Regions from separate parts of the Homo sapiens genome. Here region 2 is linked to region 1. The links are contacts of gene promoters, found by promoter capture Hi-C in human tissues and cell types (Jung and others, 2019). All regions are on one chromosome and are shown on one strand. Each heading gives the region's core, a stretch centred on a gene start or on the middle of the fragment in contact. The rest is flanking DNA. Distances are from core to core; before and after follow the strand shown.

Region 1 (6,071 bases), core at 1,327-3,826:
AGAGAAGTGAGTGTGTATGTCCACTAAAATACATAAAAAAGAATGTGTACAGAGGTTTCATTCGTAACAGCCCCAAAGTGGAAACAACCCAAATAGCCACCAAAAGGAAAATGGAAAAAATTGTGGCATAATACAAAAGAATCTATACAACATCTAAATGCACAAACTACCAATGCACGCAACAAAATGTGTGAATCTCTCAGATACTATGTTGCGCAAAAAAAGCCAGATACTGTATGACTCAATGTACATGAAGTTTGGAAATAGGTAATACCAATCAAATGGTCAGAAGAGTATTACTTCTGAGAGTAGAGAGTGGACACCGACTAGGAAGGCGCAATAGGAAAACTTCTAAGGTTCCGGAAGTGTACATGTCTTGATCACGATGGTGTTTACACAAGCATTCACATAGGTAAAATTCAGATGAGTACATTTTACAGTATGTTACACCTCCATTTATTAAGACAGATTAATATGTTTTATTCTGCTACAGTCACTCCCCTTCTCTGGCCTCAATTTCTCCCTCTATTAAATGAAAGGATTAGATTATAAACTTGTTTCCACTGTTAACAGCAATTCTCACACTATAATGCCTGTTCATCTCTCTGTATCCCTTCATTAGACTGAGTGCCTTTACTTGTATACTTCTGACAAATAGTAAACATTCCATGAGTACCAACTGGATGGATAGAAATGAATGAACCTACCAGAATATGTAATATAAATAGCAAAGTAAATGAATGGAATGACAGTAAACACAATGAGAATTAAGAAGAGGGAAAGCTGGAGTAGTCGAGCCCATGACTTGAGCAGGATCCTAAACAATGCTAACTCATGCCCAAAACAAAGTCCGATTTCTCTCTGCTGCTATGCCTTGCTGTTTCCCCAGGACCTTAGCACCACTCTTCGTATTCTAAGCAAGTTTTTTCAGTCTTTCATGGCATATGTCATGGCACACAGAGAAAAAGAAAATTGTATAGTACCATGAAATAAAAGTGTCACAAAGATAAAAATCTCAGCACTTACCTAACTCTTGAAACATGGTGGGTTGTACACAATGCTACAATACAGTTCAGTTCTTGGGGAACTGCCTAAGAAATCTTAAAGAATGTTCATTCTACCTTGCTTTCCATGATCAAAAGTTTAATTTAATGTCAGTTTTTGCTATTTTGCACCTTCCGTTCCACAGCCATGTCGTAGACCTGGAAACCTTTATGGAATCATGACTATGAATTAATCAGTGCAAATGAACTTTCTGTCTGACTCTAGCGTGCCTCAAGTTTAGAAAGGAATAAAAGGTAACCACTATAAAGTAGAAAGGATGAGACCAGTACCATCAAAAGTAGCTGGAATTTGCAGTTTCGGTGTTAGTATGAACATCAAGACATGCTGCCAGCCTCAGACTCTTCTCACTCTCACTACATCTGGCTGATAAAAAAGAGTAATACAGCTCTAAACTGTGCTCGACAAAGGGCAGTATAGAGCTTTAGGAACACATGTACTTCATGTTATAGAGGCAGCCCTGAAGAACTGCCTGTCAACCAAACTATATTTTAAGTATCCTGTTAAAGATTATTAGTTGACCCCAGTGGCAAATTCTATAAGAGAATAATCTGCAATGAGAGATCAGTCCTTAATTTACTTCAATCAATAAACACGTTTTGAGCAACTAGTTTTTGCCAAGAAATCGCAGAGGTCACATGTCCAAGAAATAGACTCATGGAATCTATGGATTAGAATCTTAAAGGTTTACTATCCAGTCCCTTCTTCTGATTGCTGAGTAGGAGATTCTGATTGCTGAATCTCCTCTCCTCCACATAAGTAAGCGTTCTTCCAGTTCCTATTTGAGCGCTTCTAGTAACGGGAAGCTCATGAGAAGCAATCCATTGCACTTTTGGCAACTCTAATTGTTGAAAGCTCTCCCTAACAAACACCAAGATCTGCCTCTTCCATCAACTAGTTCTAGGTATAGAGGCCAGAATCAAGAACTAGTCTAACTCCTCTTTCCGGGACAGCTGAGGCCCTGACACCTGGCAGTGGCTGACACCTCCCGGCCGGGGCGGCTGCATCCCTAAACGAAAAATCGAAGCTGCCAGCAGCCGAGGTGCAGCGAAGAAGGCCCGGGGCTGGGGGTCAGGAGGCCCGCGTGCGACAGAGGAACGCTCTGTGGTCGTGGACAGGACGCTTTGACAAGGCGGCTGGCTGGGCGGATTCCCTCTCCGACTCGGGGAGAATCTGCACACATACGCCAGCGGAGTTGACGCGACCCCCGGGCCCCGGGACTCGGCTTGCACGAGCCAGTCTGGGGACCGGGGAGGCGGGGAGAGGGAAGGGGAAAGCGCGGACGCGGCCCAAACCTCCAGTAGCCGCAGCCGCCGTCGCCGAGTAGGGCCGGGCAGCCAGCCGGGCCTGGCGCAGCATCAGTGCCCGCTGCCGCTTCCGCTCGATACTCGCCCGCACCGAGGCAGGCAGCTCCGCGGGTTGCTCTAAAGCCGCCGCCTCCGGCAAAGCCCCGTCGGCCGCCGCCATCTCTGGCCCACTCCGAGGACCTAGCTCCCAGCTCCACGCACGCGCACTGCACGCCGAGGCGAGCCAGCCGCCCTGCACCGCCTCTGCGCTCCCCGCACCCAGCGGCCTTTCTGAGTGAGAGCGCCTGCGCAGTTAAGGGGCTCGGGGTGGCCTGCCCGGGCGCTGGGCGGAGTCTGGGTATGCGCGGACACGGAGTACCCGCCTAACTACCTGCTCTCTTGTCATCCGGGAGAAGGGTCCGTGCTGAGATCATATCTCACGACCTGGTCACCTTTAAAATAGGTCTCGCTTGGTGATTCAGAGTATAGGCTTTGGAGTCAGGCCTGGGTTAAGTCTGAGCTCTTGACAGTTAAAGTCTGTGTGACCTTGGGCAAGTTATTTAACCAGAGTTCAGTTTCTTCAGTGGTAAAATGAGGATAATTATGGAACCATTTACCGAGTCTTTGGGAGGATTAGATTGCCAGGACAATAACCTGGCACGTAGAAGACCTCAAAAAATGGTAACAGTGAGTAGTAGTAGTGCCAGTCATAGAGCCCAACAGATGATAGTCCTGATTTTATGTTGGATACACGGCCTAGAGACACAGCCTTAGATTTAAAATGAGAAGACCTGGGTTGAAACTCCCAGTTAACTTGCTGTGTGACCTCAGGCAAATGCAGGACTTGCTCCAAGGCTGATATGCATAAGGTTGGCTATCTTTCCCATGGAATATTCCTTCAGTGAGGATGAGCTACTGCCAGGTAGACAGTGGGTTTGGATCTGGGCCAAATATCCTGACTTCCCAAAAGTGTGGCTAGTGTAACAAAAGAAACATAGCAGGCTTTCCCAAAAATGTATGCTTTCCCTTTGTTACAAATAATGCTTAATTGAAACCAGAAAACATTAACTTCTAATTACTACATGTACCATTTAGGACTGGCTTTTAGAAAGACAACCTCACACACTGATGTTTCCCACTAATGTTCAATGGTTAACCTTTCAGAAACACAATTCAGTGTTCTAATTTATCGGTCATATATACATAAAGCTGCAAAACCTCGTATAAAGCAGTTACCTGCTGAAATCTTAGGTTGAATTGGAGATAGAATCTCAAGCCATCCCCATCTCCCTTCCCCTCAGATCCTTCTTTCTCCCTACCCATCAATCTTGCCCAGGTGAAACTATTTCAAATTCCATAACATCAAAAGCACAAGCAACAAAAGAAAAAAAGCTGGACTTCATTAAAATTAAAAACTAGGCTGGGCACAGTGGTTCACACCTGTAATCTCAACAGTTTGGGAGGCCAAGGCAGGAGGATGACTTGAGGTCATGAGTTCAAGACAAGCTGAGGCAACACAGTGAGACCCTGTCACTATTAAAAAATAATAATAATTGGCAAGGTGCAGTGGCTCATGTCTGTAATCCCAGCCCTTTGGGAGGCCAACACAGGAGGATTGCTTGAGACCAGGAGTTCAAGACCAACCTGGGCAATGTAACAAGAACCCATCTCAGGAGGTCAAGGCTGCAGTGAGCTGTGATGGCACCACTACACTCCAGCCTGGGCAACACAATAACATCTTGTCTCAAAAAAAAATTAAAGTCGTCGGCAAAGCCTGAGTCCTGTCCTCTCACTCTCCTCCCTGGACAGCATAAGCTTCACCACTCGCTCCACCTTCTCCACCAACTACCGGTCCCTGGGTTCTGTCCAGGCACCCAGCTACGGTGTCCGGCTGGTCAGCAGCATAGCCAGCGTCTGTACAGGCACGGGGGCTCTGGTTCCCGGATCTCCATGTCCCGCTCCACCAGCTACCTGAGCAGCATGGGTTCCGGGGGCCTGGCCGCGGGGATGGCCAGGGGTCTGGCAGGAATGAGAGGCATCCAGAACAAGAAGGAGACCGTGCAAAACCTGAACAACTGCCTGGCCTCCTACCTGGACAGAATGAGGAGCCTGGAGGCCAAGAACTGGAAGCTGGAGAGTAAAATCCAGGAGCACCTGTAGAAGAAGGGACCCCAGGTCAGAGATGAGCCATTACTTCAAGACCATTGAGGGCCTGAGGACTCAGATCTTCACAAATACTGTGGACAATGCCTGCATTGTTCTGCAGATTGACAATGCTGGTCTTGCTGCTGATGACTTTAGAGTCAAGTATGAGACAGAGCTGGCCATGCGCCAGTCTGTGGAGAGCCACATCCATGGGCTCCGGAGGTCACTGATGACACCAGTGTCACTCGGCTGCAGCTGGAGACAGAGATCGAAGCTCTCAAGGAGGAGCTGCTCTTCATGAAGAAGAACCACGAAGAGGAAGTAAAAGTGTTGTACCCGAGCGAGTTAAAAAAACGCCACACTTTGAGATGAATTAAGAGTCCTTTATTAGCCGGCGACCGAGAGACGGCTAACGCTCAAAATTCTCTCGGCCCCGAGGAAGGGGCTTGATTAACTTTTATACCTTGGTTTAGAAAGGGGGGGTCGTCTAGTTAAAACAATTTTACAGAAGTTAAGTAGTCAAAAAGTTAAAAGGATAAATGGTTACAGGAAAGTAAACAGTTCCAGATGCAGGGGCTTTAAGACTATTACAAGGTTATAGATGCAGGGCTTTGGGCGTTATCAAACAGATGAATTCTTGGGGACTGTGGATATAGCTTGCCACAGTATCTTATCAGTTAATTGCATTCTTGGATGTGCTGGGAGTCAGCTTGCACAAGTTAAGTCCTTGAGGAAGGGGCTGCCAGTGAAAGAGCCAAGATGGAGTTTGTCTGGTTCTCTTAGCTAAGGGAGAGTCTGTTCAGGTGGAAACAAGCCTAGGTGAAAAAGGAAAAATGAGGTTGGGCATTACAAAAGGCCTACAAGCCTAGATTGCCAGCTCTGGGTTGACCATGGAGGTAGATGCCCCCAGTCTCGGGACCTTGCCAAGATCATGGCAGACATCCGGCCCCAATATGATGAGCTGGCTCGGAAGAACTGAGAGGAGCTGGACAAATACTGGTCTCAGCAGATTGAGGAGAGCACCTCAGTGGTCACCACGCAGTCCACCGAGGTTGGAGCTGCTGGGATGATGCTCACGGAGCTGAGATGTATAGTCCAGTCCTTGAAGATCAACCTGGACTCCATGAGAAATCTGAAGGCCAGCTTGGAGAACAGCCTGAGGGAGGTCGAGGCCCGCTATGCCTTGCAGAGGGAGCAGCTCAACGGGATCCTGCTGCACCTGGAGTCAGAGCTGGCACAGACCCGGGCAGAGGGACAGTGCCAGGCTCAAGAGTACAAGGCCCTGCTGAACATCAAGGTCAAGCTGGAGGCTGAGAGCACTGCCTACTGCTGCCTGCTGGAGGATGGCAAGGACTTCAATCTTGGTGATGCCCTGGACAGCAGCAACTCCATGCAAACCATCCAAAAGACCACCACCCGCCGGATAGTGGATGGCAAAGTGGTGTCTGACCAACGACACCAAAGTTCTGAGACATTAAGCCAGCAGAAGCAGGGTACACTTTGGGGAGCAGGAGGCCAATAAAAAGTTCAGAGGTCAAAAAAAAATTGAAAACTTTTCTACGTCAAAGAACACTATGA
Region 2 (6,071 bases), core at 2,250-4,749, 190 kb after region 1:
CAGCTCCTGCTCCTGTCTCCTCTTCCTCCTTCCAGGCCCCCAGCCCCAAAGTTAGAGGCAATTGAGCTCTAGCCAATGAAATGTGAGCAGAAGTGCTAGTGCCACTTCTAAGCCTGGTCCCTAAAACCACCATGTTCACCCATGTGCTCCTCTATGATCTTTCTTCTTATTTTTTATTTATTTTTTTTTTTGAGGGAGTCTCATTCTGTCGCTCAGGCTAGAGTGCAGTGGCGCAATCTCAGTTCACTGCAACCTCCATCTCACAGGTTCAAGCAATTCTCCTGCCTCAGCCTCCTGAGTAGCTAGGACTACAGGCAAACGCCACCACACCCGGCTAATTTTTTGTATTTTAGTAGAGACGGGGTTTCACCATGTTATCCAGGCTGGTCTTGAACTCCTGAGCTCAGGCAATCTGCCCACCTCAGCCTCCCAAAGTGTTAGGATTACAGGTGTGAGCCACCATGCCCAGCCTATGATCTTTCTTGTTATGGCTGCCTGGAATGGAGATGATGTCCTTGCAGGCTCTGGAAGCCACATACTAAAAGATGAAAGAGCATTCATTAGGCTGGGTACAGTGGTTCACGCCTGTAATCCCAGCACTTTGGGAGGCCAAGAAGGGCAGATTGCTGGAGCTCAGGAGTTCGAGACCAGTCTGGGCAATGTGGTGAAGCCCCAACTCTACTAAAAATACAAAAATTAGCTGGGCGTGGTGGCGCATGCCTATAATCCCAACTACTCGGGAGGCTGAGGCACAAGAGCATGCCACTGCACTCCAGCCTGGGCGACAGAGTGAGAATCCATCTCAAAAAAAAAAAAAAAAGAAAAAAGAAAAAAAAAAGCATTCATCAGCCAGTGTCTGAATGAGGGAAAGAAGGAAGACTGACCTACCAGTCTGCTTCTACCTGCCCAGTACTATTATGAAAAAAGAACTCTATTATGTTTGAGTCAGTGTGCATATTGGCATCTATTTGTTAAAGCAATTAGACTCCCCTATTATATATCCATATATTGATTATCAAGTAGGAAATGCACTAGTAACAGAAACCTAAAGATACAGTGTTATTTTCTCTGATGTCAAAAGGAGTTCAGAGGTAATATTGCAGTCTATGATGCCAAAAGGACCTGGCTCCTTACAGCTTTCCCTTTTATAGCTGTGATCTTCAGGGGTGACCCTATACCTCTGTCTTAGTCTTTTCAATAGAGTTGCCAGAGCTCCAGCCATATGTCTGCAACTAGGGCAGGAGTAAGTAGATGGATGAAAAGGCACAAAAGAAAAGTGCTAGTTGAGTCAACCTTCTTTTTTTTTTTAAATGTATCATGGCTCACTGCAGCTTGACCTTTCCGGGCTCAAGAGACCTTCCCACTTCTGCCTGCCAAGTGGCTGTAGCTAGGACTACACTGACGCACCACCACGCTGGACAATTTTTTTTTCCATAAAGACAGAGTCTTGCTACATTGCCCAGGCTGGTTTTGAACTCCCAAGCTGAAGCTATTCCCCTGCCTCTGCCTCCCAAAGTGTTGGGATTACAGGCATGAGCCACTGTACCTGGACAACCCGCTTGACTGCTTACATTTCAACATCACTGCCAGGGACCTCTCCTTACATTTCAATGGCTACAATTGTGTCACAAGGCCACCCCCACTGCAGAAAAGATGGGCAGATTTTTAATTTTTAGCTGAATGCTCAGCTTCCTCAAGTAAAATCAGTGTTCTGTTAGTAAATAAGAGGAAAAGGATATTATATAGGTTACAGTAGTTGTTATCTGTAATTGCAATCTCAAAATTCTTTAATTGTAGAAGATGTGTTTTTTGTTTGTTTGATTGATTGATTGATTTTTTTCTGAGACAGAGTTTCACTCTTGTTGCCCAGGCTGGAGTGCAGTGGTGCAATCTCAGCTCACTGCAGCTTCCACCTCCTGGGTTCAAGCGATTCTCCTGTCTCAGCCTCCCGAGTAGCTGGGATTACAGGTGCCCGCCACCACACTCGGCTAATTTTTTTGTATTTTTAGTAGAGACGGGATTTCACAATGCTGACCAGGCTGGTCTCAAACTCCTGACCTCAGGTGATCCACCTGCCTCGGCCTCCCAAAGTGTTGGGATTACAGGCGTGAGCCACTGGCCCAGCAAAGATGTGTTTTGAGTTCCAACTGAAAAAGATAAAGATTTGCCTCTCTACCCACTTCTCTCCAGTTTATTCCTACCACTGTCTACCAAAATAGTTACATCTACATCATAGCTGTCCAGTGTTTACTATACGAGTATATTATGATGCATCAAGCTTATTTTCTGATAAGCCAAGCAATAAATATGTCACATTTCTTATATAATTTTTGTTTTTCTTAAGTTTATCTACCTCCTCTCAATATTTATATCCTAACTAATGCACCTTGCATATCTGAAAATGAATTTTTCTACCTTCATACTTCATTGATAGTTTCATTGGGTATTAAATTCTAGGTTGGAAATAATTCTCACTCTGAATCTTGATGGCATGGCTCCATTGCCTTCTAGAAATGATGCCATTATTCTTTCTAATCCTTTCTGCAACCCATTTTTCTCTGTAAGATTATAGGATTTTCTCTATTTCTTTGTGCTCTGTAATTTCACAGTGATGTATCTTAATATAAGGCTTTTCTCATTTGTTGTATGGGGTACTTGATAGGACCTTTCATTTTTGAGATTCATACCCTACAATTCTAGGACATTTCCTATGTTACTTCCTTAACACATCTCTCCTCATCACATCTCCTGTTCTCTCTGGGTCTCTTAATAGTTGAATGTACAATCCCTTATAATAATCATAGAATTTTCTATTCTCTCATATTGTCCATCTCATTGCCTTTTGTTTCCACTTTTGATATTGTGCGCTTTATGATAATACCTGGTCACCTAGTCTTATTGTCAATACTGTGCATGGGCTTGAGGATTTGCTATTAAGTTGTTCTCAAAATTCTGCATTTATCACTATCTTCCCAGAATGTATCCCTTATTCTTAAAACATAGCATTACTTGATATATAATTTCAATTCAACAAACATTTGCCTTTAGCATTGTGAAAAGGACTTTATTTTCTTGTGAGTCCATAAATGTATTTTAAATTATTTTGCTCTAATTTATCTACCATTTGGGTTTTTGCAGTGGGAGAGCTAAACTACTGGAAATAAAAATTTCATATAATTTGTTTGCTAAATGGGATTCTGTATCAGGCTTATTTTCAAATTTTATATGAAGCCTCTGCCAAACACTGTTTTTTTCTTATTTTTAGAATTAATTTTCATTTTTTATCAGAATAATGCAACTGCATTGTTTTAAAAGTCAGTTATGAGCTGCTCTGCCTATGGAGTAGCCATTATTTTATTCCTTTATTTTCTTTTAATAAACTGGCTTTCACTTTTTAAAAAAAAAGTCAATTATGAATAATCAAAAAATGAAATTGGGCTGAGCACGGTGGCTCACACCTGTAATCCTAGCACTTTGGGAGGCCAAGGCGGGAGGATTGCTTGAGCCCAGGAGTTTGACACCAGCCTGGGCTATATGGTGAGACTGTATCTACAAATTTTTTTTAAAATTAGGCAGGTATGGTGGCATGCACCTGTGGTCCCAGCAATTTGGAAGGCTGAGGCAGAAAGATTGCTTGAGCCCAGGAGAAGGTTAAGGATGCAGTGGGCTGTGTTCATGCCACTGCATTCCAGCATAGGTGACAAACAGAGGCCCTGTCTCAAAAAATAAAAATAAAAACACACAAAAAAACTACAAAATGACAGCAATGAAAACCATTCCATTTATCTATATGTCTATCCTTATGCCTTACTGGCATAATCAATAGTCGTTGATTTTCAACCAGTGTGCCTTCAGTGGAAATCAATAGTCATTGATTTTCAACAAATGTACGTTAAATGGAAAAAGAATTGCCTTTTCAACAAATAGTGCTGAGACAACTGGATATCCACATGCAAAAGAATGAATTCAGATCCCTACCACACACCATATGCTAAAACTAACTCAAAATGGAATAAAGACCTTAATGTTTATAGACAATGTTATAAAACTTATAAAAGAAAACACAGATGTATATCTTTGTGATGTTGGATTACTCAACAGTTTCTTAGATATAATACCAAAAACAAAGCACAGTAACAAAAGAAAAAACAGATAACTGGACTTTATCAAAACTAAAAACTTTGCATGTGAAAGGACACTGTCAAGAAAGTAGAAAGACAAAGAATGAGAGGAAATATGTGCAAATCATGTATCTGATAAAGGTCTAATAGCCAGAATATACATATTTTTAAACTCTCACAACTCAACAATAAAAAAATTTGAAAATTAGTAAAGTACTTCAATAGACATTTGTCCAAAGAAGATATACAAATGGCCAATAAGAAATGAAAAGATGTTCATTATTAGTCTTTAGGAAACTAGAAGTCAAAACCACAATGAGAATTTGGAATCTTTGTGCATTGCTGTAGTAATGTAAAATGGTACAGCCACTGTGGAAAACAGTTTGGCAATTTCTCAAAAAGCTCAACATAAAACTAGCAAATGACCCAGCAATTCTATTCCTAGGTATACACCCAAGAAAAATGAAAGCATATGTACATACAATAACTTGTACATGAATGTTCATAGCAGCATTAATCATAACAGCCAAAAAGTGAAAACAGCCTAAATGTCCATCAACTGATAAATGCATAAACGAAATGTGGTATATTTATATGACGGAATATCATTTAGCCATAAAAAGGAATGAAGTACTGATACATATTACAACATGAAAAAAAATTGAAAACATTAGGTTAAGTGAAAGGAACCAGACACGAAAGGCCACATATAATCTAATTCCATTTATACGAAATATCCAAAATAGCCAAATCCACAGAGAAAGAAAGATTAGTAGTTATTAGGGACTTAGGGGGAGGGTGAAATAAGAAGTGACTGATAATGGTTACACAGGATTTCCTCAAGGAATTATGAAATGTTCTGGAATTAGATAGTGGTGATGATTGTAGAACTCTGAAACTATCCTAAAAAACACCTAATTGTACACTTTAGGCCAGGCACAGTGGCTCACACCTATAATCTCTGCGCTTTGGGAGGCCTAGGTGGGAGGATCGCTTGAAGCCAAGAGTTCAAGACTAGCCTGAGCAACATAGTGAGATCCTGTCTCTACAATTTTTAAACATTAGTCAGTGTGGTGGTACACACCTATAGTCGCAGCTACTTGGGAAGCTTAGGTGGTAGGATTGCTTGAGCCCAGGATTTCAAGGCTGCAGTAAGCTATGATTGCACTACTGCACCCCAGCTTGGGCAACAGAGTGAGACCCCATTTCTTAAAAAAATAATTAAGCCATCAAAGTGTACTAAAACGGTGAATTTTATAGTATGTGAATTATATCTCAATTTTTTTTTTTTTTTTTTTTGAGACAGAGTCTCGCTCTGTCAGCCAGGCTGGAGTGCAGTGGCACAAGTTCGGCTCACTGCAACCTCTGCCTCCCGGGCTCAAGCAATTCTCCTGCCTCAGCCTCCCAAGTAGCTGGGATTACAGGCATGTGCCACCATGCCCAGCTAATTTTTGTATTTTTAGTAAAGACGGGGTTTCACCATGTCATCCATATCATTGTCTTTCACCTCCATATTTTGTTCCACTGGAAGGTTTTCAGGGACAATAACACACACGGAGCTGTCCTCTCCTATGATAACAATGCCTTCTTCTAGAACGCCTCCTGGAGGATCTACCTGAGGCTATTTTACTTCTTTTTACATAAGTAGAAAGAGTATGCTCTAAAATAATGATTAAAAGTATGGTATAATAAATACATAAATCAGTAACATAGTTGTTTGTTATTGTTGTTGTTATTTTTTAAGTTGAAACAGAGTCTGGCTCTGTTGCCCAGGCTGGAGTGCAGTGGTGGGATCTCGGCTCACTGCAACCTCCACCTCCCAGGCTCAAGCCATCCTCCCACCTCAGCCTCCCGAGTACCTGGGACTACAGGCACACATCACCATGACTGGCTAATTTTTGTATTTCTTATAGAAATGTACAGATGAGTTTTCACCATGTTGCCCAGGCT

The links. The method cuts DNA at HindIII sites, captures the fragments that hold promoters and counts their contacts. A contact is called where the count stands out against the background at its distance.
Region 2: a contact is called between a fragment that was not itself captured here and the fragment with the promoter of XPA in region 1, in 1 of the 25 tissues and cell types used here (H1 embryonic stem cells).

Annotation. Positions count from the first base shown.
Region 1 is chr9:97,694,764-97,700,834 of GRCh38, forward strand. XPA (XPA, DNA damage recognition and repair factor) reads right to left here and starts at 2,577. Exons shown (of 6, transcript NM_000380.4): 1 at 2,358-2,577. The coding sequence starts at 2,529. PTCSC2 (papillary thyroid carcinoma susceptibility candidate 2) reads right to left here. Exons shown (of 11, transcript NR_147055.1): 11 at 4,862-5,308. It also overlaps the pseudogene KRT18P13. RefSeq lists enhancers at 1,969-2,028, 2,039-2,088 and a silencer at 2,639-2,738. The HindIII fragment of the contact is 10,254 bases long and covers 1-6,071 here.
Region 2 is chr9:97,879,168-97,885,238 of GRCh38, forward strand. No RefSeq gene overlaps it. Among named protein-coding and RNA genes, the nearest start is that of FOXE1, 29 kb to the left of the region's middle. The HindIII fragment of the contact is 4,836 bases long and covers 1,082-5,917 here.